Regions from separate parts of the Homo sapiens genome. Here region 1 is linked to region 2. Evidence: promoter capture Hi-C in 16 types of primary human blood cells and fetal thymus (Javierre and others, 2016). All regions are on one chromosome and are shown on one strand. The core of a region is centred on a gene start or on the middle of the fragment in contact, and the rest is flanking DNA. Distances in the headings are between cores, read along the strand shown.

Region 1 (3,180 bases), core at 59-2,558, 380 kb before region 2:
AGCCACCCTTTCATCTCTACGCCAGTCCAATTCTACTCCAAGTCACTATGCCCCTCCTGTCTGGATTTGTGAGGGGCAGTCAGACCAGAAGGGGCCAGAAGGTGATATTTGTCATCTCCCTGCTGCTATACCAACCTCTCAGCTACCTGAGTTTTTTGGGTCCCTTTGTCTGCCTTCCCAGCCTCAGCCTGAGACCTGGGCATCTGACTTGAAGGATGCAGGCTCTTAGTGGACATGGTAACCCACATCAGCCCTTAGGGCTGCAGCAGCCCTGCCTGGCCAGAGTCTCTACCTCCCCAAGGAATATCAACCAGGACCAGAAGCCAAGGCAGGAGGGGACAGGAGGTCAGATAACAGGTTTTCTGCAGGGATGTAAATTACACATCTTGGAGGATCTGACATATGCAAGGCAGAGTTTTGGGGGCCCAGTAAGCAAATGGTGCCTGTTTTCTTGCCCCAAGGCAGAAATGCCTTTGTGAACACTGGGAGGAGTCGCGTGGGGGCTAAGCCCTGAGAAAGTCCCAAAGTCATAGAAGGGCCCAGACGCTGAAGAGGCTGCAACTGGCTGCAGTGGATGCCACACAAGCCTCTTCCTGTCCTTGTGCAGGTGGATCTTGTCCCTCCCAGTGCGTTCCTTTCTGTACCTCTTGTTGGCCATGAATCTCCTTTGCCCCTGCCCACATCTCCATGCCATTTCCTCTGCAAAGCTTTCTCCTGCCTCTCCCCTACTGTCAAAACGTTTTAAATGCTGGGCAGCATCTCTTCTTTAGGGTTCCTTCCCTCTATCCCATTCAAAGAGCCATACCCAGCTTTAGCTACCTCCATCTCAAGCTTTCATCCTATCTTTCTCTCCTCCATTCACAATCAGGAGTCCCTTGCAATGAGACCGATTCTGGTTTAAAACACATTTGTGAGGGACGGGTGTCATGGTCTCACCTGGAGGGAAATCACACCTGCACAGGCCTACAGAGAGGTGAGGCGGGGCCTCGGGCATCTCATCAACTGGGTACGTAGAAAGAGGACTCTGATTTTTTTTTTTTTAGATGGAGTCTCATTCTGTCACCCAGGCTGGAGTGCAGTGGCGCAATCTCTGCTCACTGCAACCTCCGCCTCCCAGGTTCAAGCAATTCGCCTGCCTCAGCCTCCCGAGTAGCTGGGATTACAGGCACATGCCGCCATGCCCGGCTAATTTTTTGTATTTTAGTAGAGACAGGGATTCACCGTGTTACCCAGGCTGGTGGTGAACTCCCAAGCTCAGGTAATCCACCTGCCTCGGCCTCCCAAAGTGCTGGGATTACAGGCTTAAGCCACCATGCCCGGCCGAGCACCCTGATTTATGGGTAATCAGCTTCCCCTTCCCTGGGCCCAGGGATCTGGGAGATAGGAAGTTGATGCCACCGCCCCAAGAGCTGATGTTTCAGGACTGTGGCCAGTGAGTGCTGAACACAGTGAGCAGCAGAGTGGGCTGACACCTGAGCTCCAGGACTCATAAAGCCCCGCTGTTCTTGCATGGCATGTGGTTTCTGGGTTTATTTCCCTGTTGTCCTTGAGGAGAGTATATTTATTCCCTAAGTATGCAGGGCTTAGGGCTAAAAGCATTCCCCATGCTTACAGAAATGCTAGGGATATGAAAAAGTGTACCGATTTCCAAATACAAAAGGCAAACTTAAAAATCTAAAGTAATGAATATTAAAGCGTTTTTAAAAATGTCTACAAAACATAATATTAGTCCATTTCTTTGTTAAATTTCATGTTCCTAAATTTTCATTACATTGGAAAACAATTTGAAGCTTTTTTTCACTTTGCAGGATTTCCTAAATGTTTATCGTGATTGCTGAGAAATCAGAGCCAATCATAGATTCACTGAGTTTCTTATAGACAAACAATCCTTTAAAAGAATAAACGTCCTTTTAAGATTTTAAACGGCAAAAAATCTTAGAAATCTTTTAAATTTTTGGGCCGGGCACGGTGGCTCACGCTTGTAATCCCAGCACTTTGGGAGGCCGAGGTGGGCGGATCACGAGGTCAGGAGATCGAGACCATCCTGGCTAACAGGGTGAAACCCCATCTCCACTAAAAACACAAAAAAATTAGCCGGGTGTAGTGGCGGGCACCTGTAGTCCCAGCTACTCGGGAGGATGAGGCAGGAGAACGGAGTGAACCCAGGAGGCGGAGCTTGCAGTGAGCAGGGATCGCACCACTGCACTCCAGCCTGGGCGACAGAACAAGACTCCGTCTCAAAAAAAAAAAAAAGAAATCTTTTAAATTTTTAATTGTAAAAATATATTTAGTGTGGAATGTGAGTGTATTTTAGTATATGTTATTAAGAGGCAACATAACATGGTGGGACAAACACGAACCCTGGAACCAGATTGTCTGGGTTCAAGCCCTGGCTTTGGTACTTACTGGCTATATAACCTAGAGCAAGTTATTCAACCTCTCTTTGCAATAGTTCCCTCATCCCCAAAGCAAATTATAATAGTTCCTACTTTTGAGGAAAAAAAAGATGGTAATTGCTATGATCTTAATGTTTGTGCCTCTCCCCGTCAAATTCATATGTTGAAATCTAATCCCAGGCCGGGTCCGGTGGCTCACGCCTGTAATCCCAACACTTTGGGAGGCCGAGGTGGGCGGATCACCTGAGATCAGGAGTTCGAGATCAGCCTGACCAACATGGAGATACTCTGTCTCTACTAAAAATACAAAAAAATTAGCCGGGCACGGTGGCACATGCCTGTAATCCCAGCTACTCGGGAGGCTGAGGCAGGAGAATTGCTTAAACCTGGGAGGCGGAGGTTGTGGTGAGCCGAGATCATGCCATTGCACTCCAGCCTGGGCAACAAGAGCGAAACTCCATCTCAAAAAAAAAAAAAAAAAATCTAGTCCCCAATGCGAAGTATTAAGAGGTGGGTCCTTTAGGAGGTGACTGAGGCCTTCATGAGGATGAAGACCTTGTGAATGAGATTGAGTGCCCTTATGAAAGAGGCCTGAGGCAGCCTGTCCACTCCTTCTGCCCTGTGAGGACACAGCTAGAAGGTGCCATCTATGAGAGCAAGCCCTTACCAAACACCAAATCTTCTGGCTTCCCAGCTTCCAGAAATGTGAGCAATAAATTTCTGTGGTTTTTGTTTGTTTTTCAGAGATGCGTCTCACTTTGTTGCCCAGACTGCTCCTGGCCTC
Region 2 (3,188 bases), core at 338-2,837:
TCTTCAAAGCTTCCACAGAGTCCAGAGAACTTAGTTCTTTTTAGAGTGCCTCGGAAGCCACCCTCTGGGAAGGAGGTGAGATGCAGGGATGTCTGATGCCTGGTTACTCCAGACTGTGAGAAACAGCCCAGTCTCCAGTTCTCCTGATCTGGCCTCTTGGGTCACAGCCAGATGTGTGTGTACGGGAACCTACTTGCGCAGTTCTGGGCTGCTTTGGTGCTCTCGCTTCTCCCAGGGACCCCAGCTCTGGTTGCTGAAGGAGAAAACTCTCTGTCAGTGACGAGGAACCCCTGAGTCCTGGGCTTGCCAAATTGATCTCTACAGTTGGGGAGTCTCTTCTTTTACAGGCCTCTAATTTTCCTAGATGTCCTCCTTAATTATCTTATCCATGGACTTAGGCCTATCCCGTCCTGGAGACAGACCAAGGGCAGAAGGAATGTAAGAAGTCGTGGCCCAGGCCGGGTGCAGTGGCGCGTGCCTATAATCCCAACACTTTGGGAGGCCGAGGTGGGAGGATCACCTGAGGTCAGGAGTTCAAGACCAGCCTGGCCAACATGGTGAAACCCTGTCTCTACTAAAAATACAAAAAATTAGCCAGGTATGGTGGCAGGCGCCGTAATCCCAGCTTCTCGGGAGGCTGAGGCAGGAGAACTGCTTGAACCCGGGAGGTGGAGGTTGCAGTGAGCGGAGATTGCGCCACAGCACTCCAGTCTGGGCAACAGTGCGAGACTCAGTCTCAAAAACAAAACAAAACAAAACAAAAATTTGAGATCCCAAAGTGTTTTCCCTGCCACGACTCAGGTAGCAGTGAGCTGAGGTGGGCATCACTAACATGTATGTCTCTCCTATGAGTCAAACGTCCATTTCTGGGTCACCATCTGTGTGCTCCTGCCTAACACTACCACTTTTGGGATTCCAAGATGCACCCCCCCCACCCCACCCAGGCAGGGGTCCCTATCTCTCCCCAGGCCCTAGGGTGGAGTTTCGCTCTTATCACCCAGGCTGGAGTGCAATGGCACAATCTCAGCTCACTGCACCCTTTCCCTCCTAGGTTCAAGTGATTCTCCTGCCTCAGCCTCCTAAGTAGCTGGGATTACAGGCGTCTGCCACCACGCCCGGCTAATTTTTGTATTTTTAGTAGAGACAGGGTTTCGCAATGTTGGCCAGGCTGGCCTTGAACTCCTGACCTCAGGTGATTCACCCGCCTCAGTCTCCCAAAGTGCTGGGGTTACAGGCGGGAGCCACCGCGCCCGGCCCATCCCTCATTATTTTTTGCGACTCAGAGCCATCCTATTACCCCTCTCAAACCCCAAGGAATGTTTGAGTGGGGTTGATATGGGTGTGAAAAGACACAGAATAATCTGTCTCCAGAGGAACTACAACTTCCATCAGGCACTACTTCAGCGGAACAGGAAAGGATGTGGGGGCGTGGCTACCACGCCCTAGTAGAGCGGGAAACTACAACTCCCAGGATAACGCGGGATTTCAGCAGGGCCAAAAGAGTGATTGAGCTCTGACTGGCGACCCGACCCGGCGGAAACCACCTCGACAGCCTCCAGAAAGGGGCGTGGCTGAAAATGTAGGGGCGTGGCCACGTGGGCATCAGGAAGAAGTAACCTGTTGAATCTATTTCTGCTCCCCACCCTTACTGCTTCCCATAAGGGGGAAGCCGCAGACTAATAAGCCTCTTCCAAAAAAGAGGTAAAGGGAGGTAGACAAGGGGCGGCAGCGGAGGCTGGCTACTGCATTCCGTAGGAGGAGCCAACAGTTACTTTTTACCTGCTGAGTCCGGTGAACCAGTTCATGGGGGCGGGGACCTGCCTATGAGAAAAGGGCCAGGATAGAAGAGGTATTTATTTGTTCATTTTGAGGACTAAATTTAGAACCCATCATCTACAGACCCATTTGTAGGTTGTGTCTGGGGCACTCGCTCGGCCTCAGGAAGAGGGAAGAACGGGGACGACTTTGTGGCAGCAAAGCCACCTCCCTTCCGTGTTTTCCGCAGCCCAAAGCGATAGAACCGCATGGCTTCCGCAGTCTGGGGGAGTGCCCCCTGGTGGGGCCCGCCGCCCCCGGCCCCAGCTCGGCCGCTCACGGACATCGACTTCTGCTCCGGGGCGCAGCTGCAGGAATTGACCCAGCTGATCCAGGAGCTGGGTGTGCAGGAGAGCTGGAGTGACGGGCCCAAGCCGGGAGCCGATCTCCTCCGGGCCAAGGACTTTGTCTTCTCTTTGCTTGGTAAGTAACCCTACTTGCCTTTGGGAACTCACAGCTCTCAGCCTCACCACGCCCCCGCCCCCGCCCCGGCTTTGGGCGACGCCCTCACGATCCGTTCCCTTTTTTTAGGTCTAGTTCACCGCCGGGACCCTCGCTTTCCTCCCCAGGCAGAGCTCTTGCTGCTTCGTGGTGGGATTCGCGAGGGCTCCCTGGATCTGGGGCATGCACCCCTGGGTCCCTACGCCCGGGGACCTCACTACGATGCCGGCTTCACACTCCTAGTGCCCATGTTTTCACTGGACGGCACTGAACTGCAACTGGACCTGGAATCCTGTTACGCACAGGTCTGCCTCCCAGAGATGGTGTGCGGAACCCCCATCCGGGAGATGTGGCAGGATTGCTTAGGACCCCCAGTCCCAGGAGCACGTGATTCGATCCACCGAACGGAGAGCGAAGAAAGTTCCAAGGACTGGCAAAGCTCTGTAGACCAGCCGCACAGCTACGTCACTGAGCACGAGGCGCCGGTGTCTTTGGAAAAATCGCCTAGTGACGTTTCAGCGTCCGAGTCGCCTCAGCATGACGTCGTCGACCTTGGCTCTACCGCACCTTTGAAAACAATGAGTAGTGACGTCACCAAGGCAGCCGTCGAAAGCCCAGTCCCAAAGCCGTCGGAGGCTCGGGAAGCGTGGCCCACATTATGTTCCGCCCAGGTGGCTGCCTGGTTCTTTGCTACGCTGGCGGCGGTCGCCGAGTCTCTGATCCCTGTCCCGGGTGCTCCGCGTCTGGTGCACGCAGCTCGCCACGCGGGTTTCACCACCGTCCTCCTGGCTACCCCTGAGCCCCCTCGCCGCCTCCTGCTCTTCGACCTGATCCCAGTGGTGTCCGTGGCGGGCTGGCCCGAGGGGGCTCGGAGCCACTCGTGGGCCGGTCCGCTGGCCTCTGAGTCGGCTTCCTTCTACCTGGTGCCCGGT

What was found. The method cuts DNA at HindIII sites, captures the fragments that hold promoters and counts their contacts. A CHiCAGO score of 5 or more calls a contact.
Region 1: a fragment that was not itself captured here is called in contact with the fragment with the promoter of TMEM102 in region 2 in 1 of 17 cell types (total B cells); the score reaches 5.9 in total B cells.

The regions. Positions count from the first base shown.
Region 1 is chr17:7,053,410-7,056,589 of GRCh38, forward strand. No RefSeq gene overlaps it. Among named protein-coding and RNA genes, the nearest start is that of SLC16A11, 11 kb to the left of the region's middle. The HindIII fragment of the contact is 959 bases long and covers 830-1,788 here.
Region 2 is chr17:7,433,848-7,437,035 of GRCh38, forward strand. It overlaps TMEM102 (transmembrane protein 102), which reads left to right and starts at 1,588. Exons shown (of 3, transcript NM_178518.3): 1 at 1,588-1,849; 2 at 2,006-2,238; 3 at 2,347-3,188. The coding sequence starts at 2,025. RefSeq lists enhancers at 1,272-1,441, 2,493-3,188 and a silencer at 3,138-3,188. The HindIII fragment of the contact is 10,292 bases long and covers 8-3,188 here.